Regions from separate parts of the Homo sapiens genome. Here all the other regions are linked to region 1. The links are contacts of gene promoters, found by promoter capture Hi-C in blood cells and fetal thymus (Javierre and others, 2016). All regions are on one chromosome and are shown on one strand. The core of a region is centred on a gene start or on the middle of the fragment in contact, and the rest is flanking DNA. Distances in the headings are between cores, read along the strand shown. Region 1 holds the start of CCER1 (coiled-coil glutamate rich protein 1). Region 2 overlaps POC1B-DUSP6 (POC1B-DUSP6 readthrough). Region 3 has its middle 43 kb from the start of PLEKHG7. Region 4 overlaps LOC124902983 (a long non-coding RNA gene). Region 5 has its middle 46 kb from the start of LINC02458. Region 6 has its middle 20 kb from the start of LINC02458. Region 7 overlaps POC1B-DUSP6 (POC1B-DUSP6 readthrough).

Region 1 (3,139 bases), core at 502-3,001:
ACTTTGAGTCAAGCAGGGGTGTCCTCAGCAAACCACAGAGCAAATGAAATTAAATGAAGCCTGTGGATTCTACAGGTCTCAGGGCAAATGTTGGAGTCCTGATCCAAGACCCCCTATAATGTTCTCAATTTTCAGCCAGGAATGCATAAATGACCTTTGCCAGCTTCAGGGCTTTCACACATTTTGCTTTTCTGGCATTTAATGGAGCCTTATATAGACTGAAGTTCCCAGCAGGCAGTTTTCCATTTTGTGCAATTCCACTCAGCACAGAAAAGTAAGAAAGGGATATAAACTGAGACGGTTTTCTCTAGGACCAAGTATGGTAGCACTTTCCTTGACGTTTTACAAAGAAGGACAAGAAAAGGACACAAGCCAGGGTGGGGATGCCTATTTTTGCATCAAGAACAAGTGCCTTTACATATACTATATCATCTCTTTTAGAAGTCATGAAGTATTTACAAATAAGGATGATAGTTAACAGTTACTGAGTACTTACAGGGTACCTGCACTAAGTACTTGAAGGAATTACAGTAAGTCCTCACTTAGCATCATAGGTTCTTGGAAACTGCTACTTTTAAATGAGAAGACATATAATGAAACGTGGTTTTGTTATTGTTGTTGTTTTGCCTCAGCAACGTTATAAGGAAATGACATTGAGCAAAACATTAATATTAGAGGACCTGTTATATGCATTTAATTCTTTACACAACCGTATGGAAAAGGTAGTATAATCATGGTATGGGTAAGGAAACTGAGGCTTACAGAGATTAATAATTGGTGAGTTGAAGTTGAATCCCATTTATTTAAATTAAAACCCATATGCTTAACCACAATGCTTTAAAGGCTTCCCGTGTATATGCTGTATGGTCAGTGAAGGGACAAAAGGAAAGACAATCAGAATATTCCTCTTCCCAAGGACAAACCTGTGGTATTCATTATGGTAATAATAATATTTGTTTAATTGAGGTACACATGTACGGTATATTACCAATAGCAAAGTACCTTCCCAAATGTTATGTCATTTAGTTATCACAAGGGTCCTACTGGGGGTTTGGTAGAACACATAGCAATGTCATTAGGAACCTAACTTTTGGGTCAAACAGGTTTAGGCTTAAATCGTAGCCTGGAAATTTATTAGCCCCACAACCATGGGGAAATTAAGCTCTCAGTTCCCTCATCTGTGACAGGTGATAAGATACGCCTACCTCTCAGGGTAGATGACAGGATTATTTGTCAGTGAGCACATGCAATAATAAATGTTCGTGGTCTTGTTTTATGTATTATGAATCCCAATTCTCAGGAGTAAGAAGAGTTGGCACCGGCCAGAAGGTAAGAGGTTGGGCAAAGTTTCCTTTCTCCAGTAATTTTCCATGATCCCTTAGGCCCTCCAAAGGTGTAGAATGTGGGGTTTTCAAAACTCAAGTTCTCCCGCCCCCACCGGGTTCAGATGAAGGCCCATCTTCTAAACCCCCGCCTCAAGGTGATACAAAGCTTTCGGATAAACTGCCTCCAGACTTGCTTGAATTGAGCAGCAGAAACCCAGCCTGGACCCCTCTTCACCTCCCCCAAACGCTGCGTCACAAGCCCCCTGCGAATGTTCACCTGGAGCCTGGTTCCGGACAGAACCCGGCCTTGCACACAGGGAGGACGATTTCGACCCCAATTGGCTGTTGCCCTGGGTGACCAAGAACGCAGTGGGCACGCGGGAGACCACAGCCAGTATTTAAAGGCTGCCGCTGCCCTCGCCACCACAGTCCTGCCAGGACGGCGACAGTGAAGCACCTGGGTTGAGAGGGAGCAGCAGGTAACTGCGCAACCCCTGCCTCCCCCGGCCCCAGCCCGTGCCTCAGCAGAGCCGGGTGTGGTGGGGACCCGGGAGTGGGTCTCACTGCGTGTCGCCTGCCAACACCTTCCTCCCCCACCATCCTTACCCAGCCCCAGTCCCACCCAGCACACCTGGGCGAGACAACCCAGGTGCGAAGGACAAGCGATTACTACCGAAGAGCGTGCAAACCAGGAAGAGAGCAGCCTCCTGGAGAGGAAAACGTGATCCCAGGGGTAGACACGTGGCGCTGCGTGGAGAGACAGGTTGACGAGACGAGGCTCTTCTGACCGTCCTACCTGGCAAAACTTGACGACAGCTTCAGGTCGCTACCATCTGGACCTCTCGGAGCTCCCTGAACCATGACTCAGACCCTCGACACAAGGGAAGACCCTCTGAACCTGGGCGGCGGTGGCGGCGGCGGCTGTGGCTGTGGCTGGGCACACTCGGCCTCCTTGAGCTCCTGGTCGTCCTGCCATCGAAGGCGCCCGGGTGCTCCAGCGTACAATAGACCGCACCGATATAGCCCCAAGACCGAGTATGGGCCCCCAAGGAAGCAGCCGAAGCAACAGCACGGCCCGGGCTTTTGGTTCCAACCACCCGTGTGCTCTAACTGGGGGTGCTGGGGAGGGCCCTGGCGCCCACCCCCTCCAGGATTCTGGAAATTCCCCTGCCCGGTGCAAGTGTTTCGGGTGTATGGCCTGCACCCTCTCTGCTTTTGCTGCTGCTCCTGCTGGAGCGGGTCCTGGAACCCTGGCTGGGTGAAGCCCCCAGGCAGGAAGAAGCGCTGGGGCCGCAGAGGCCGCGGCCTGCGCCACCACCCTCGCCACTCCTACCCGCGGAGCCCGCCAGCGGATGTGAGCACGCTGCCGCGGCCGGTCAAGCTGTATGAGTGGAGAGAGCCTGGCATGCGAGCGCCGCCCAACACCACCCAATTCATCATGAACCAGATCTACGAGGACATGAGGCAGCAGGAGAAGGTGGAGCGTCAGCAGGAGGCGCTGCGGGCGCAGAAGGCCACGGTGAGCGGCGAGGCCTCCCCAGCCAGATCCTCCGGAAACGACGCGCCCCCTGGCGGCAGCAAGGAAACCTGGGGACTGCAGGAAACTCTGTATGGCTTTGTGCAGAATCCCTCTCTAGCATTCAGTCCCAACCCAGAGGAAAACCAGTCTCTTGCCCCGCTGCTGGTGGAAGAAGAGGAGGAGAAGAAAAATGATGATGAGGAGGAGTATGACCAGGAGGTGTGTGATGCAAAGGAGGCGAGCGAGGAGGAAGAAGAGGTCGAAGATGAGGAGGAAGAGGTCGAAGATGAGGAGG
Region 2 (3,076 bases), core at 234-2,733, 1.4 Mb after region 1:
CAGATCACTTGAAGTCAGGAGTTTGAGACTAGCCTGGCCAACATGGTGAAACCCCGTCTCTACTAAAAATAAAAAATTAGCCAGGTGTGGTGGCAGGCGCCTGTAGTCCCAGCTACTTGGGAGACTGAGGGAGGAGAATTGCTTGAACCCGGGAGGCAAAGGCTGCAATGAGCCGAGATCATGCCGCTGTACTCCAGCCTGGACGACAGAGTAAGACTTCGTCTAAAAAAAAAAAAAAAAAAAAAAAAAGAAATACATGAAACTGAGTAACTTATAAAGAAAAGAGTTTTGATTGGCTCACAGTTCCACAGGCTATACAGGAAACATGGCTGGGGAGGCCTCAGGAAACTTAACAATCATGGCAGTAGGTGAAGGAGAAGCAGGCACATCTTACATGGCCAGAGCTGGAGGAAGAGAAGGGGAGGTGCTATATACTTTTAAACAACCAGATCTTGTGAGAACTCACTCACTATCACGAGAACGGCAAGGGGGAATTCTGCCCCTATGATCCAATCATGTCCCTCCAGGCCCCTCCTCCAACACTGGGGATTACAATTCAACATGAGATTTGGGTGGGGTCATAAGTCCAAACCATATTATAGGGGCTCTTAGGTTTCACAGGATGGGTGGAAAGGTGATGAGAGGGAAGAGGATGGGAGAAAACAAAATAGCCTGTGAAGTGTTGTCATCCCTTTTTATGGTTGCGGAAGCTGAAATTTCAGTAACTTGCCCAAAACTATAAAGCTAGTAGGCAGCAGAGCCTAGTAGTGGTCCCCAATCTTTTTGGCACCAGGGACTGGCTTCATGGAAGACAATTTTCACAGCAGGGTTCACACTCCTATGAGAATCTAATGCCGCTGCTGATCTCACTGGAGCTGGAGCTCAAGCCTTAAGGTTTGCTTGCCTGCCGCTCACCTCCTGCTGTGCAGCCCAGTTCCTAATAGGCCATGGACCAGAACCAGTTCGCAGCCTGGGGGTTGGGGACCTCTAGCCTAATAGAGCCTGGTTTGAGTCTGATTTCAGAACCATACCCTTTTCCATTAGGCCAGTCATCCCTTTCGCAGAGGGCCACATTAAAGTTTAAACAAACAGTAAAAGCCTGTTAAAGTATTTTCACAGGGTTTGCAGAATCTGAGCTGTACTTTAGAAGTTTCTGTTGAAAATTACATAATTTTAACATTGAAGTTGTTACTTCCCCCTCTATTTCCTTCAAGGTTATCCTGTCATTGATTCAATCCTGTAACATGTGGTGTGCTTGTACAACAAATGATGGTAAAGAACAAGTTAATCTTTCCTTTTTTGACTGAATAGAAGCAGACTGAAATTTGAACTTTTTAGTTACTTTCCCTGCAGTGAAATCATAATAAAAGTTTGCCAAGAATTCTTTTTTTTTTTTTTTTTCAAATTCTTGATGGCAGCCTATGTGGTACTTTGTGGAGCTTCTCCTATTATAGCTTAAAAAATTACTAAATTTATAAAAGCTGAAAAATTACAAAAGCTAAACTAATTTAGTGTATACACTGAGAGGTAGTAACAGAGTGCAGTGTTTCTCAAATTTCAATGTGCATCAGAATTCAGTGAGAAACTTGTCAAAAATTTATATTCCCAGGTCTCACCCCAAATAATGTATAATTTACTAGAAATAACGTCTTTTTTACAAGGATCCCAGTAACTGTAATGAAGATAATTCATAAATTCCCTTTGCTTTGAGAAGCACTGGTTTATTGGTTAAAAGCCTAGGCTTTGGAATCTTATAAAACTGGGTTAAAAATTGAGCTCTTTTCACTTTTCATCTATATTACCTTGACCAGTTACCTAACCTCACTAAGCCTCGTTTCCTCTTCTGTAAAATAGAGATAATGATATTTATCTGCCTTGTTGTTAGGATTAAATAAAGTAATACTTATAAAGGCGCCTAGTCTGGAGTACAGTGATGCAGTTACAGCACACTGCAGCCTTGACCTCCTGGTCAAGCTCCAGCCGCCCGCCTCCCTCAGCCTCTGGAGTAGCTGGGACTACAGGCATGCACCACGAAACCCAGGTAATTTTTTAAATTGTTTGTAGAGAGCCTCGCTATATTGCTGAGGCTGGTCTTGAACTCCTAGCCTATCGTAGTCCTTCTGCCTTGGCCTCTCGAAGCACTGGGATTACAGGCATGAGCCACCGTGCCTGGGCTTGATACTTACGCAGTATTGAAAAATACTAGGCCCATGGTACCAATTCAGTAAAGGTTTCTGTTGTTGTTATTGCCAGTCCTCAAAGACATGTGAAATTTGAATAAATTAAATTCAATTTCTTCAGCTTGTCATTACTAAAGATTACTTTTTAAAGCACCCACAGCTCCTTTAGACCCAGCTTATACTAGCAAGCTAATTACTTAGTATCAGCTAGAAAGCAAATATGCTTAGTTATTTCCTCATTCAAGGCAAAGGGATTTTAAGTTAGTGCTGTCAGTTAATTGTATTATTATGCAGTGCTTGCATAGTACAAACTACTTCTGACCATATTACAGTATTAAAGTTTGTCTAGTCAAGATTGGAATATTGTCTTTTTATTGTACAACCCTCTCCCTCACTTCCATCTAGGTTTATTGTTGTTTTGAGACAGTCTTACTCTGTCACCCACGCTGGAAGGCAGTGTTGCGATCTCAGCTCACTACAGCCCCAATCTCCTGGATTCTAGTGATTCTCGTGCCTCAGCCTCCCAAGTAGCTAGTACTATAGGTGCACGCCACCACGCCTGGCTCATTTTTGTATTTTTAGTAGAGACAGGGTTTCACCATATTGGCCAAACTGGTCTCAAATTCCTGGACTCGAGTGATTCACCTGCCTTGGCCTCCCAAAGTGCTGAGATTACAGTGAGCCATTATGCCAGGCCCCATCTACGTTTATGGATGTATGTCTGGGGATTGCCTTTTATTTTTCTTTTCTTAAAAATATTTAGAAAGAACTCATTCTCATAGATTTCTTTAGATTTCCCTATTTTTCCCCCAAATAAAGCAGTCTGGTGTTTCTTTTGTGACCCAAAGGCAAGCATGAACCTGGAAATGCAGCATGAAGTACAAAGTCATGGCACC
Region 3 (3,146 bases), core at 516-3,015, 1.7 Mb before region 1:
TCTTAAGAACCTCTTTGAAGGCAAAAACATGAAAAGTTATTTTGGAAAATTTCAAACATACACAAAAGTAGAGAAAATATCATGGCAAACTGCCATGCAGCCATTGTCAACCTTCTAACATTATCACCGTTACATTTCGCCTATTTTCCTCTCTTCTATGCCCTGCTTCCTGCTCTTTTTTTTTTTAATTGCTGGAGTATTTTAAAGCAAATTCCAAGCATAAAGTTATTTCACCCCTAAATATTTCAGCGTGTATGTGTTTATGTATGTGTGTAGGTACATATTTATTTCATATATGCATGTATAAATTTTGTATGTCCCTAACAGATGAGGACTTTTTAAAAACATAAGTACAATATCATTACCACATCTCACAAAAGGGGCAATAATTCCTCAATATTGTCTAATACTCATACCATTTTAAATTTCCTCAGTTATCTTAAGAAGTTGGTTTGGTTTCAATCAGCCTCCAAAAAGGTCTACATACAGCATATGGTTGGGGTGTATTTTGAGTATTTCCTGATATAGGTGACTATATCAATTAGTTTTAGCTATTAAAGCACTACAAAGCTCAATGGCATAAATCAAGCTTGTCCAACCCATGGCCTACGGGACCACATGCAGCCCAGCATGGCTTTGGATGTGGCCCAACACAAATTTGCAAACTTTCTTAAAACATTATGAGATTTTTTTTGCAATTTTTTTAAAGCTCATCAGCTATCCTTAGTGTATTTTATGTGTGGCCAAAGGCAATTCTTCCCTTGTGGTCCAGGGAAGCCAAAAGATAGGATACCCCTGGTGTAAATCAACATCCCATTTTGGAAGAATTTGTGGTTTGGCGATTTGAGCTGGGCTCAGGTGTGAGAAGGTGCTAGGTCAGCTGGAGCCTGGCTGGTGTGTCGTGGTGGTTGGGGTACAAAGCTTACCTGGGATGGTTCATCTTTGTCCCAGGTGGTCTCTCATCCCCCAGTAGGCTACCCTGGGTTTACTCACCTGGTGTCAGGTTTTTTTTGTAGCAATTAGGAAATCCCAAAAGGTCTCTTAAAGCCTAGGCTTGAACTGCAATGCTGCTTTGTCACATTCCATTGGCCAAAGAAGGCACAAGACCAACTCCACCTGTTGATGGGAGAAATTGCAAAGCTATATTGCAAAGGACGTAGCTGTTAAGGAAGGGAATAATTTGTGAAAATTTTGGCAATCTACTATAGCCACTTACCAAACTTGTTTTGATTTCCATAACCCTTAAAATCTGTCAAAGAATACATATCTCCTAAAGCTTACATTTTAACTTCAAACTATTCTTAAATGAATAGAAATTGATCACTAATAAATTTTTAAGAAATATTGTCATTCAACACAGCCATATGATCTTTTTGTTCTTGTACAAAAAATTTTCTCATTTCCTTTAAGTGGTATAAAGGCATTTATTTCAATGCCTGAAAAAGTTTCATACAATGTATAACTAGAACATAATAAAAAGTTCGAGGGCCAGGTGTGATGGCTTATGCCTGTAATCCCAGCACTTTGAGAGGCCAAGGTGGGAAGATCACATGAACCCAGGAGTTCAAGACCAGGCTGGGCAATATGGTGAAACCTTGTCTCTACTAAAAAGACAAAAAATTAGCTGAGCATGGTGGCATGTGCCTGTAGTCCCAGCTACTCAAGAGGCTGAGGCGGGAGGATTGCTTGAGCCCAGGAGGTTGAAACTGCAGTGAGGCATGAATGGGCCATTACACTCCAGTCTGGGCAACAGAGTGAGACCCTGTTTCAAAAAAAAAAAAAAAGTTTTGATTCATTTTAATTTCAACATGTAAAATTGTAATGTTTTGTTTTGTTATTTTTCTCTTTCCAGAGGGTTACTAAATACATTAAACTGTTGGGAAGGGCATTGTATTTCTCTGGTCCAGGGCAATAATTCAATAGGGATCAAGGAAAGCTCTTTGTAAAAGCTATCTATAGGACAAGGGCTTAATTTATGTGGTGGTTTCTGCTAAATACCTTGCATTAAAGAAAAACTACCAACTGTTAAAGAGCAATGGCAGGTCAACTTACTTTGGTAGTAAAGGGACGTGATGATGAGAAGGTTGATCAAACAGGTGTAAATCTTTTCTGAATCTACAGTTTTAATTTTGCCTGATGATAAAATTATAGGCTTTATCATGATGAACTGCGGCCGGCTCATACTAGCTTGTGAGAGTCACTGGCCTCATATCTTTCTAATTCCATGTTCAGTAAAGTCATGTTGGAAGCTTGATATTGGCCAGAGTGAGAGTATTTACACCATGGAAACTGGCAAATGCTACAAAAGAGGGCCTCTTTTTGTTTTGTTTTTTTTTTTGATGGTCAGTTGTTAAACATTTGTAGCATACCACTGGCCTTTACCCACATAAAAAACAACAGGTACTGCTTTCCAGGCATATTTAAAAAGAGTTTCTTTTGCAATGAAGGACAGTAATCATGGAAGGAGGGGAGGGCTTCCCTTGGCATCTTTTCCATCCATATGTGTCTCCAGATTGCTGGTAGCCTGGTTGAGTATGAGCAAAGATTAAGAAATGAGAAGCAGAGACCAGGGAAAGGAACAGGGAATGTGCCTGGTCCTTTGCTTACGCTATTGACTCTGACTTTCATCGGGCTCAGGCCAGACATGCTCTTCAGCTTGTTTCTAAGTGCTCAACATCCTCTGAGTCTTTTAACAAGAAATGTAGAAATGGAAGCAATTCTTCATATGTTACGGAATTCAGCTACTTGCCATGCAGCCCTGATGAAATCCCTTACCTGCCACAGTGTTTCCCATCTGCGAATCAGAGATGGGAAATCTGCTCCTCCTCATTGTGCAAGTAGTTATGGTTAAAGCCAGGTTAGGTTGCCTCTCCCTGTAGAGTAATAAATGGAATAGGATGAGATAATTCTTAAGAGTCCCTCTGAAGAGGGCTCTCCATGGAGAAGGAAAAGGAGAAGGAAATTTGGAAGCCGTCGGGTAAGACCTTGTTGAAACTGTAGTTCATAGAATAGCAGCATTGGTGTCACCTGGGAGTTTGTCAGAAACGCAAAATCTTAGGCCCTACCCAGAACTATTGCATCAGAATCTGCATTTTGACAAGATTCCAGGTGAATTTTATACACATTATAGTTTGAGAATGATTTAA
Region 4 (3,176 bases), core at 123-2,622, 1.7 Mb before region 1:
GTTATTTTTGGTGCCAGTGTTACCAAAACACCAGGGATTTGGCCTAGGTCCTGCTGCCCACCACACAGAAAACCAATAATTGAGACGATGAACATAGCCAGGAAAGAAGGCTTTAATTGGGTGCTCCAGCCAAGGAGTTGGGAGATCAGTCTCAAATCCGTCTCCCTGACTGACTAAAATTAGGGGTTTATATAGCAGGGAAGAAATGTATGGGAAAACAGGAACTAGGGAGGGGCAAGGAAGCAATCATGATGAATGAGGGGTCTGGTGTCTCATTGTCTGGATACGATGATCTGGTGAGTTTTAATTTTTTGATACTTTTTGAGAGGTCTGGGAGTCCTTTCCTGAAGAAGGAACTCAGATAAAACAAATGAAATTTCAAACATGAAGACCCAAAGGGTCAATTTTTATGTTTTTCCAAGAAAAAAACTGCCTATGGGACTATTGGGTTGGTTTCATCAGCATGATTCTTTCTTGTTCCGAAGAAGTTACTTGTGTATGAAATAGAGTTGAATGTCACAATGTTATTCAGAAATACAAAGTTCTCAGCGTTTGTAAATTTTGGGTTTTTTTTTGGTAACAGCTTTATTAAGATGTGATTCATATTGCATATAATTTACATACCATGTAATTCATCTACCTAAAGTGTACAATTCAATGGTTTTTAATATACTCATAGAGTTTGCAACCATCACCATAATCGATTGTAGAATATTTTTATCACTCTGAAAAGAAATCCTGCATCCTTTAGTTATCACTCTCTCATCTTCCCATTTCCTCTCTTGCTCCCAGCCTTAGGCAACCACTAATCTAGTTTCTGTCTCTATATATTTGCCTATTATGGACATTTAATATGAATGAAACTTTCTAATATGTGGACTTGGCTGTCTGTGAGTAGGCAGTATGCTGTGGTGGCTAAGAGCAAGGGGCAGATTTGGTTTCAACTCCTTGCTTTCTGGCCTACTACCTGTGCAACCACGTGCAGAACCCAACCTAATTTAAAGCTTTCTTTCTTGCCAAATGAAGATTTTTAAATAATTTTCCTTTATTTAAAAAATGTTTTAATTTTGCGATCATTTCAAACTTATAGAAAAGTTGCAAGAATGGTGCAAAGAATCCTTGTGTACTGCACCCCATATGTTCCAGTTGTTAATAATACTTACATTTACTTTGTCATTCTCTCAGTCTCTCTGTATCTGTGTTTATATATTTTTCAAACCATTTGAAAGTAAATTACAGAATTTTCTTTACCCCTAAGTATGTTAGTGTGTATTTCTGATAAATACACTTTTTTTTGGTATATAACCACAGAAGAGTTATCAAAATTAGGAAATTAACATTGATGTAATACTATTATCTAATTAAATGTTGTCAATTGCCCCAATAATGTTGAGGATCACCTGCTAGCTTTAGTGATTTTTAATCTATGACAATTTCTTAGGAATTATTTGCTTTTATGACCTTGACATTCTGAAGAGAATTGACCACTTATTTTATAGAATACCTCCCAATTTGGCTTTTTCTGATGTTTTTGAGGTTATGCATTTTTGCATTAAATTCTTTTTAGCCCTTCCATATAAGTCAGTTTGTCCCACAACTGTTGATAACTCTGATGTATCAAGATGGTATCTGCCAGGTTTCTCCACTATGAAACTACCACTTTTTTCCTTTGCAATAATTGTCTTGTGGGGAGATACTTTGAGAACATTTACCAAAATATCCTATTCTCATCAAGCTTTCACAAGTTTTAGCATCCATTGACAATCTGTGGCAATCAATTATTACTCTGATGGTTGCCACATGTTGATTTTATAACTTCTATTATTCTTTCCAGATTTATTATTTGCATTCTAATGCAAGGCAGATCTTTTCCATTATAACCATTATTATGTCATTATTTATTTTTGCTCAAATTATTCTCAGATTTGGCCAGTGATGTCTTCTCAGTCTGAGTCCTGTGTTGTTTTGGCACGTTGCTGTCATTCTTTAAGCATTTTCTTACTTTCTGGTGCAAAAGTATATTTATATATATACACACTGATGATATATATATATATGATTATATATACATAGACTGATATATATATACACACACGTACATATATGTGTGTGTATATGTATATATACACACACACACACTTCCATATCATTTTCTATATCTTTCTATCCACGTATATGCAAAGTCATAGTACCTCCAATTCCAGTCCAATTCCGCAAGGTTCATTTTGGATTTGTACCTCCTTTTTTGGACAGTGAGAAACCTGGCTTCCTTTATTTGCATTCTACTTATTTATTTACTCAAATTTGCTTTTTCTCCACTGTAAGTGATATCTTTTGAGCACTGCCACCTAGAATGGCACACACTCTTAATGTCCCTCCCTGTGACCACTGCTCTGAGCTTCCAGATATCTTTCAGGATTGATGCCCTTAGAGTAGATTTGCTCTTTCTGGAGGTGAGTTACATCAGTCTTAGGCTTTCTGCCAGTTCCACTTTTCTGTGCACTTTTTCTAGTCAGCTCTTGCTCTCTACTAGGACTTGCAGGAGGTTGAGAGATAATTCCTTGGGATTTGGTGTTGCTTTTTCTATGTATAGGTAATTTGAGGTTTGGGCATTTTCTATCTTCTATTTGCTGAAGGTGTGGGTTTTGAATAGTTTTATTTGTTTTTATTTCATATTGCTTTTGGAGGAAATTTAGGAAGATTTGGATTTAGGGGACTATTTTCATCATCAGCTATCTGGAAACTCATCTAAATAAGAATTCTTATATTGTGAAGATTAAGTGATATAACCTATGTAGAGTATTAAGTTTGTGTATCTGTCAGAGTGAGAGAGAGGGAGTGAAAAAATTAAATACGGTTGACTATGTAACAGAAAAAGCCAAATACCTGGCACAAAGAGTTAGTAATAATAGCAACGCAAATTTAAAGAGATTTTTCTAGCAAAAATTTCTATACTTATTTTAATTTTTATAAAAAATATATATAATATAGCTTATGTATATAATGTTTTTATATATATGGTTTTAAAATGACTACAAACCTACAAAAAACAGCCATCTCTGGATCTACCATTTCCTATCTCAAGTCCACTGCTCAGAGGAAACCTCTTTCTACTTCTAGTTATTTTTTCTGTGATTTACATTTTTATTAATAGGCAATATGCTTATATTTCTTCA
Region 5 (2,960 bases), core at 238-2,737, 2.0 Mb after region 1:
CAGTTATCCCTGTGTCCTTGAGAGCCAGGTTTGTCATCCTCAAAATAGGAGAAAGGAGACACAGAAATAAGATAGAAGAGGTTAAGTAAAAATCCTGTAGTCTTGAATTTAAATTGGAAGATATAGTAGGGATTTTGATGTGATTTATCTTAAAAATAATTCCTAGCTTAGTCTAATGAAAAGGCCTAGAAACCATGGTTAACCAAAGAGTAATAAGCCCTCTAACACTCGGATTTTTATTCTGAAATACTATTTCCCACTAAAGCAAACCACAATTCCTGGGACAGGAAATGTACAAGATGAGTTTGAAATATTTTACCAAGGAGGCTATTAAACACTATTAAGGTAGTGTTAAAAAGATTCAGGAATCAACCTAAAGAAGATCCACTGGCAAAAGAGAAAACAATTCCAATTATACAAGAAAAACCATATATTCTATAGTTGTTTGAGCAGTGTTTTATATATAAGACTACGTAAACTCTTAGTCATCATTTTTACAATTTCTTTTTATCTGCTGATTTTTGTCTGATTATTCTTTCAGTAACTGGACCTGTATCCATATATTACAATAAATGCAACTTCATAAAAAGATGAAGCAATCTGATTATCAATAAAGATGTAAGCTGCAATGACTTTAATACTAAATACATTTAAATCAATGGGTTCATAATAATACTTATCCAAAAAAAAAAAAGAAAGCTTACCATCAACAAAATGTACTAGCTTCAGAATGCGGAGAACCAATTTATTCTTTTTAAAATTTAGAAGTTGGGAGAAGGATTAAGCATTTACCCTATGTTTCCTATGTTGTACCATTAAGTAACCAAATGGAAAGCAAGGGAAAGTTTCTCATTATAGAAATATTTTAAGAAATAAGTGAAGAAATGATAGAATTGCAATATTTTTCTCATTCTTCCCCAGCCCCAGTGATCCCCATTAGGGCTCAAGACCATGGCATCAATTACAGCTTATAAAATAAAAGAGAGACAACGTGACTTCTGATGGAACAGTGCATCATCTCTAAGGTAGCCTTGCAAAAAAAATATCAAATCTGAATCGGATCATGCCTTAGATTTAACAGTTGACAGAAAAAATAGAGAACATGGGAATCTCCTAATGACACCACAGGGATGCAATTAGAAAAATCCTGACTGAGGGAAATTTTAAAGATCTCAAAAGATCTAATGATTCAGTCTTTCTGACAAATAGGTATCAAGAGAATAAAATGAAAATGCCTATAAATTAAGATAGATTTATGGAACTTATTAATCACATTCGATGTGCTAAACTGGTAAATAAAGGGAAAGAATCAACCATTTATCTTGTGTTTCCTATTCAAACTGGGATAATCAAAATAGAATTTCTTCTCCGAGTCCCTGAGAATGGGGCACGTATTTAACCAAATCACAAACTACGTTTATTAACCACGTAACTTATTCATCACACTTTGTTATTCTCTGGGATTTGTAGTTTCACAAACCAGCACCTGCCTTCTGATTCTCTTTTCCAGCCTGTATTTTGGACACTGAACCAATCGCATGGAGATTTATTTTTTAGCTGGTGAATCTTTCATTATGTAAATGTTAATGTATTATTAATGATAATAATAATGCTAATAATAATGTGACTAATTTCTTAAGTCTTCCTTATGTGCAAGGAACTGTGTATTGTGTCATTTACTTGCCCAGTGATAGTAATGTAGGCATTTTAGGATTCCCATCTTACAGATGAGGGAACCAAGGCTTTAAAAATTTAATAAATTGCTTGTGAGCCCACAGCCAATATCAAGCTAGAAACGTGCACCTGAGAACATGATTCCCTGTCCAGGGCTGTTACTTTCACCAAGTACTTAATTTGACATAAATGTAAAGGAAGAGATTGCCTTTTTGGTTAAATGTTCTCTGACACTAGAAATACAGTTAAAGGCTCTTAAAAGGCTCTATAGCTTCTAAGATGAATAACATGAATTGAAAATACAATGAAAAGTGTACCCCTTTTGTAGCTGGGGGATTCTTGCCTTTGCATCTAGACTGGAGTTCTGCTTTAAATGGGTTGCCATTTCAGGATTGCTTTAGGGATCAATGATAGTAAAGAGGAATGTTTTAGTCTAATAATATTAACCTGAATATATAAAATGTGCTATCTAGGGACAAAATGTACTTTTGCATTAGAGAATGAGAAAGGAAAAAAAATTAAAAACTGGAGCAGAGAGGTAGAAAGGTGAAGAGGAAAATAGGTTATGGAAATGAGGAGTCAGATTGGGAAATAAGCTTGATGAATAATTAGTGAGAGGGCAATGGGGTAGGTGTAAGGCTGGGCTCACTTTGCAACCTGCGTGCTGCGTGGAACCTGGAAAACCACTACATACTGTATAAAGTTTCCTTTTTTTGTCTTTAATGACAACAAGTCAAACACTACTAATGTCTCATAGAGGCCTGGGAGGCTACTGCACAGATCAGGTAATGACATTTATCTTACACCTACTCAGCATACAACTTCTGGGTTTTGGCATTCAGTTAAGATTCACTTGGAACCATATGGATGATACTGGCAATTATGTCACACTCTATTCAGGATGCAGTAGAATTTAGCAATGTTGTATCAAGATCCTATCATGGACTGTGACTTACTATTCTCACAAAATGAGAATGGTTTGGAACCTTTGACCTCCAAGAGCCATTCTTGAATCTATGATCCAGCTAGCTCCAGGAAGATGACTGGAAAATAGATTCTTAGGTTGTGTTTCAAAATACCAAAATGTACTTTGGGCATGATTTTTATTTTTCTTTTAATAAGATTAAATATTAAATATTATATTTAATGTATTAAATACATAATAATAATAAGCTAATGATGAAAGTATTTTGAGCATGAAAAGCACCATCTCAGGTAGACTGTAAGGTATGAATAAGAATGCCCAAGGGTAGGCTGGGATGATTGATTCAAGACTCAAACAATTT
Region 6 (2,852 bases), core at 199-2,698, 2.0 Mb after region 1:
ACACACACAGACACACACACACACACATAAACTGAAAGATAGGCTAACTTAGCTAGAAGAGGAGAAATTCCTTTAGGAAAACAGTGTAGACTCTAGGAAATAGTCTTGCTTTTATAAAATAGACAATGAAAATTTTAAGGATAAGGCATATAAAAATATTAAGGAAAATGGAGATGAATTCCAAACCAAGTGCTCATGGAAGGCATTAGAAGAGAAGGACGGCACTGCCCTGTCAGAAGCTTTGATTGGGGCCCAAAAAAGGAAGGCAAAATTTTAGAAAGCAAACTGGAATGATTGCTTCAGGGAAGGCCAGATTTGGGACACTGTTGAGATGCAGCTTTTTAATATTATATAGGAAAAGCAACTGGCTACTGTCTTGTCTTTTATACTGAGGCAACTGAGATGTTGCCCTGGGTAGTTTAAAAATTGGATCCCCTTAAAGATTGTAACAGCTCTCCATCTAGAGTGGTGGCAGGAAAATCTGGACAAATTTCAAATGAGCAAAAAAAGATCAGCATCATACTAAAAGAATGACTGGGAGAGTCTGAAGGTACCGTATTCCACAGGTGGAGAATATACGAATTGCTTATTCTGAGAGTAAACATTCCTGAGAAAATCAGGGATCTAAAATGCTAAAGGAAGGCAGAACAAAGAGGAAATATTAAAGGTTCAATAGGTAGTGCAGTGAGTTGAGGCCAGCCCTGGTTAAAGGTTAAAGTTTAGCTAAAGGAGCTCAGATTCATCAACCAAGGAAGGTGAAGGTGAGGAAGGTTTGTTTGAGCAATTGGTACTTAAGCTCAAAGTTTGATTTCTGGCCCAGACATTCTGTTTTCAAACATATTCCTCCAGATACTGTTTTGCATTTCTTTAAAAATAAGAGATATGAAACCAGTTTGTTCTTAATTGTCAAAAAGACATGGCGAGCAAAATCATAGTACTTCATGAGGTAGAGAAGGAAAGGGAGAAAATTAAGCAGGAGAGATGGTTAGAACCTTCCTAAAAGACATACAAGAATAATAGAATGAAATCAAACACGAGAGGATTAATTCACTTGCCCAGTGCACACACGCGGGCACACACACACACACACAGACAGTCCCCTGAGGAGCATTTGAGTTATTGGACTTTATTATGGCCCTAGGGGCACAACTTCAGAAAACAACTATAGCTTCATTTCAGGAATCTGCTGAGGGCAAATTCTATGGATGAGTGAATTTAAAGAGTTGGGGAAAATCCTCCCTAGGAGGCCAATATTACAGGCTTACACAATTCTACAGCAAGCAGCATTAGAAAACCTATGAGGGCACTGGGATGGATGTGTCTGCTCACAAGAGTGAGCAGTTGGATATTCTGGGCAGGAAAGAAGGTGCCTCAAATTGGATTCATAGGCTGCCACCATTAAAATTTCCAAAGATTGCAAGAAGGATGCAATATCTTAAATACCACAGTCTGAGTGACAAAACAATAAGCATAAATGAATTTTCCTGACCAAGCCTCCCACCCCTAGAAACTCACAAATGGCAAATGCATAGACCTACATTAACCATTTGCTAGGAGATCTTTCCCACTTGATTTTAAATTCACAGTTTGTAGATACTAAACATCTGGCATAGATTTATTAGCATTCTGATGAAGTTGAAACCAAGTTTTTCTCTCTATTTTTTTTAACTCAGGTATGATTGGGGTTTGCTATGATGTGTGATACTAAAAATAGTCAGTTTGAGGAACATAATTTTGCCTGAAATAAATAATTTGGTAGATATTATTTTTTCTTATATCTTTTACGTGTGAAATAGATGCTGTGATAATATTACATGTCCTATTAATCTTGTAGGCCATTTAATAAGTGAGACGTGTTATTGAAATTATGCATATTTTGAGACCTTGAAAGCAATAAATTAGTTGTAAGAGTGCAGTCCAAGATGTAACTTCTGAAAGACTAAATTCTTCCGTGCCGCTAAGAACCCCTTTAGCTGGTAGACTGAGTAGAATAAGAAATTAGAGAGGCTGCCCTTTAAACTCTCCTTTCTCATTTATTTCAACTTCAACTCACAATGGCAAAATAATTAGATTTTTGACAGGTATATCTTTAATCTTTGAATATTAATTTCTCATGAGTCATATTGGACAATGATGCTAGACAAAATAGACAGTGAATTTCAGCACTGATATGGAGTGGGCTTGGAGCTAACATAACTAATTTACCACTCTGACATGTTCAGAACCTTTTGAGAGTTTACTCTACACTTGACTTTGGAGGGTGCTCTCTACATTAGCAGTGGTTCCAAGAAGAACCCAAAGGAGTAATGGTTGGTGTTAGAAAGAGGCCTTGTAAACATAGGAATGGGGCTACCCTAATAGAATGATCTTCTCCTTGTCTGATTATACTTTTAATGGTTAAACCCAGTAGATTAAGATAAAAACTGGAAATTGTCAGGAAGAACTTTTTTTTTTTTTTTTTTTTTTTGCTCCAGATACTTCATTTCCATCCACCCTCACTCGCTCCTCCCAATAAGGAGAGAATAACCTGACTATTGATTTGGGGTCTGGAACTGGGCAAGTGAATCTGGGAACTGACACTGCTCCCAGTTGCTCTCAAGATTATGGGCCACATTAATCTTAGTCATGAAAATCTTTTCCCCATGTGTGAAGCTTGTATCGGTCCAGTACTGACTGTGAGTAAGTCAGCCTAATTCCGGAGTTCAACATTATGAAACCCACTTCTCTGCCAGATGTAAGCTACATTTCCTGATACCAGCCTTGTAGGTTATAACAGTAATGTTTTTGTTCTTCATCTGTGAATTCTAGTTTCATTTGAGAGGGAAATATTCCATACTGCTGCTGTTGTCTTT
Region 7 (2,914 bases), core at 77-2,576, 1.5 Mb after region 1:
AGTTCTTAGTCTGTTTAAATTTATGTAATCAGTCCTGTGATTGGATTTAAGTCTACCATCTTACTGTTTTCTCTTTATCCCATTTGTCCCACATGTTTATTTCTTTATCCTCTCTCCTTTTGGATTAATCAACTATTTCTTAGTATTCTACTCATCTATTTTATTCTTAGCTTTACTCTTTGTCTTTTTTGTTTTGTGGTAACCTCTAGAGATTACAATATGTATCCTTAACTTGTCACAGTCTACTCCTGAATTAATTTTATGCTGTTTTATGTATAATGTTAGAACTTATAGAACTATATCTCCATTTACTTCTTGACCATTTACACCTGCATATGGCGTAAGCTCACAATATGTTAAGCAGCCAATTTTCTTTAAAGAAAATAAGAAACAAAAAAGTCTTTTATATTTACCCCCATATTTGCTACTTCCAGCATTCTTTATTCATTTGTGTAGATCCAAGTTTCCATCTGATATCATTTCTTTTCTGCCTAAAACACTGCACTTACCATTTCTTGTAGTGAAGGTCTCCTGGTGATGGATGACTTCTCTCAACTTCTTGTTTATCCTTTGTAAAGGATATTTTTGCTGAGATGTAGAATTCTAGTTTGGCAGATAATTTTTTCTTTTAGTGCTTTAATGATGTCATTTACTATGGTCTGAGTTTGTGTCTCCCAAAAAATTCATGTGTTGAAATCCATACCCCAAAGGTGAGGGTATTAAAAGATGGGGCCTTGGGGAGGTGATTAGCTCATGAAGCACACCCTTCATGAATGGGATTTATGCCCTTATAAAAGAAGCCCCAGAGAGACCCTTGCCTCTCACCATGTGAGGACACAGCAAGAAGGTGTCATTTATGAGCCAGGAAACAGGCTGTATTAGTTTGTTCTCACACTACTAATAAAGACATACCTGAGACTGGGTAATTTATAAAGGAGAGGTTTAATTGACTCACAGTTCCGCAGAGCTGGGAGGCCTCAGGAAACTTACAAATTGTGGTGGAAGGGGAAGCAAATACATGGTGGCAGCAAGGAGAAGTGCTGAGCAAAAGGGGGAAAAGCCCCTTATAAAACTATCGAATATCGTGAGAACTCACTCATTATAAAAAGAATAGCATGTCGGACATGGTAGCTCACACCTGTAATCCCAGCACTTTGGGAGGCCAAGGTGGGTGGATCACCTGAGACCAGCCTGACCAACATGGAGAAATCCCGTCTCTACTAAAATTACAAAAAAAAATTAGCTGGGCGTGGTGGAGCATGCCTGTAATCCCAGCTATGGGAGGCTGAGGCAGGAGAATTGCTTGAACCTGGGAGGTGGAGGTTGAGGTGAGCCGTTGCACTCCAGCCTGGGCAACAAGAGCGAAACTCCATCTCAAAAAAAAAAAAAAAAGAATAGCGTTAGGGTAACCACCCCCATGATTCAATTACCTCCCACCAGGTCCCTCCCATGACAAGTGAGGATTATGGGAACTATAATTCAAGATGAGATTTGGGTGGGTACACAGCCAAATTGTATCACAGGCCCTCCTTAGACACCAAATCTGCTGGTGCTCTGATGTTGAACTTAGCCTTTAGAACTGTGAGAAATAAATTTCTGTTGTTTATATGCTACCCAGTGTGCAGTATTTTGTTATAGCAGCCTGAATGGACTAAGATGTCATTCTATTGTCTTTTAGTTTGCATTTTTTAATGTTAAGCCAGCAATCATTTTAATGTAATTCCCCTATATATAATGTATCTTTTTTCTCTGCTGCTCTCAGATCTTTTATTTTCAGCAATTTGACCATAATGGGCCTAGGTATGGTTTTATCTATTTTTCTTATGGTTCACTGAACTGTTTGGATCTATGGATTGATATTTTTTCATCATATTTGTAAAAATTGTTGTTCTTTCTTCATATATTTTTCTTCCCTAATTTCTTTCTCATCTCTTTCTGAAGCTCCAGATTCATGTATGTTTGACCACTTGATATTGTCCCACAGTTTTTTGAGGCTTTGTTCATATTTTTCCATTTTTTCTCCCTGTGCTTAGTTTGTATAATTTCTATTGCCTTATCCTCAAGTTCACTGGTCTGTTCTGCTGTAGGATCCAATTAACTGTATCCATTTCTCTGGTGAGATTCTCCATTGGTTTGCCCATGATGCCCGTCTTTTCCTTTAAATCCTTGAACATATTTATAATAATTGTTTTACAGCTCTAATTCCAACATCTATGCCATATCTGGGTCAAATTTTTCTGCTGCTTCATATGTCCTGTGATTTTTTAATTGTATGTCCAAACATGGCTAAATTTTTGAGTTTAGATTATGCTGTCGTTGTCTAAAGAGTGTTAAGTTTTGTTCTGGTATGAAATTAACTTTCTGCTTGCCCAAAGAGATAAAGAGATTCTGTTGAGGCTTGGATTTAGCCTGTGTAGGGTGGATCTAGTGTAGTCTTTACTCATGGGCTGTAGTGCCACTGGCCCTTCTAGAATTTCAAATGAATACCTGGAGTATTCAGAAAAGGCTGGTCAGAGCTTGAGCATCTCTCAGTTCTGTGTAACCTCTGTAATCTTTGCTCTGTTCACAGCCTCCCAGTAGTTGTTCTCTGCCAAGCCTTGTTGCCTTTGCACGGGCAGCTTTGTATTTGACAATACAAAGGGAATTGTATTATATACAAGGGGGTTCCTTGTAAATTTTTTTTCCAATGCAGAATTTTTGGGGATTCTGCTTTTCGTAAATCTTCTCTTGTACCCTGTCTTCAAAATTTCAGCCCATTAGCAGCCCTGAGTTCTGATTTCTGTTTCCTGTGCCCAGTGAGACTGCTGTTATCTCCTTGGGCTCTACTTCCATGTACTAAGATTTAGAAAGTGCTCCTATGTAGAAATCTGGGACAGATTTTGTGCTTATCTCATGTGTTTCCCATCTGTCAAGA

Evidence for each region. The method cuts DNA at HindIII sites, captures the fragments that hold promoters and counts their contacts. A CHiCAGO score of 5 or more calls a contact.
Region 2: a contact is called between a fragment that was not itself captured here and the fragment with the promoter of CCER1 in region 1, in 1 of 17 cell types (total B cells). The highest score is 5.5, in total B cells.
Region 3: a contact is called between a fragment that was not itself captured here and the fragment with the promoter of CCER1 in region 1, in 3 of 17 cell types (total CD4 T cells, non-activated CD4 T cells and naive CD8 T cells). The highest score is 12.5, in total CD4 T cells.
Region 4: a fragment that was not itself captured here is called in contact with the fragment with the promoter of CCER1 in region 1 in 1 of 17 cell types (naive CD4 T cells); the score reaches 5.0 in naive CD4 T cells.
Region 5: a contact is called between a fragment that was not itself captured here and the fragment with the promoter of CCER1 in region 1, in 6 of 17 cell types (naive CD8 T cells, M2 macrophages, total CD4 T cells and 3 more). The highest score is 8.6, in naive CD8 T cells.
Region 6: a contact is called between a fragment that was not itself captured here and the fragment with the promoter of CCER1 in region 1, in 4 of 17 cell types (M0 macrophages, M2 macrophages, naive CD8 T cells and 1 more). The highest score is 8.0, in M0 macrophages.
Region 7: a contact is called between a fragment that was not itself captured here and the fragment with the promoter of CCER1 in region 1, in 3 of 17 cell types (naive CD8 T cells, monocytes and M0 macrophages). The highest score is 8.4, in naive CD8 T cells.

What each region holds. Positions count from the first base shown.
Region 1 is chr12:90,953,788-90,956,926 of GRCh38, reverse strand. CCER1 (coiled-coil glutamate rich protein 1) reads left to right here and starts at 1,751. Exons shown (of 1, transcript NM_152638.4): 1 at 1,751-3,139. The coding sequence starts at 2,185. RefSeq lists an enhancer at 2,743-2,842. The HindIII fragment of the contact is 2,103 bases long and covers 1,494-3,139 here.
Region 2 is chr12:89,511,576-89,514,651 of GRCh38, reverse strand. All of the region lies in intron 2 of POC1B-DUSP6 (POC1B-DUSP6 readthrough), which reads left to right. All of the region lies in intron 2 of POC1B (POC1 centriolar protein B), which reads left to right. Among named protein-coding and RNA genes, the nearest start is that of GALNT4, 12 kb to the left of the region's middle. The HindIII fragment of the contact is 9,701 bases long and covers 1-3,076 here.
Region 3 is chr12:92,658,168-92,661,313 of GRCh38, reverse strand. No RefSeq gene overlaps it. Among named protein-coding and RNA genes, the nearest start is that of PLEKHG7, 43 kb to the left of the region's middle. The HindIII fragment of the contact is 973 bases long and covers 1,279-2,251 here.
Region 4 is chr12:92,640,191-92,643,366 of GRCh38, reverse strand. The region is part of intron 1 of LOC124902983 (a long non-coding RNA gene); the gene reads left to right. Among named protein-coding and RNA genes, the nearest start is that of PLEKHG7, 61 kb to the left of the region's middle. The HindIII fragment of the contact is 731 bases long and covers 1,007-1,737 here.
Region 5 is chr12:88,971,732-88,974,691 of GRCh38, reverse strand. No RefSeq gene overlaps it. Among named protein-coding and RNA genes, the nearest start is that of LINC02458, 46 kb to the left of the region's middle. The HindIII fragment of the contact is 1,571 bases long and covers 702-2,272 here.
Region 6 is chr12:88,998,474-89,001,325 of GRCh38, reverse strand. No RefSeq gene overlaps it. Among named protein-coding and RNA genes, the nearest start is that of LINC02458, 20 kb to the left of the region's middle. The HindIII fragment of the contact is 2,413 bases long and covers 242-2,654 here.
Region 7 is chr12:89,481,404-89,484,317 of GRCh38, reverse strand. All of the region lies in intron 4 of POC1B-DUSP6 (POC1B-DUSP6 readthrough), which reads left to right. All of the region lies in intron 4 of POC1B (POC1 centriolar protein B), which reads left to right. Among named protein-coding and RNA genes, the nearest start is that of GALNT4, 42 kb to the left of the region's middle. The HindIII fragment of the contact is 6,655 bases long and covers 1-2,914 here.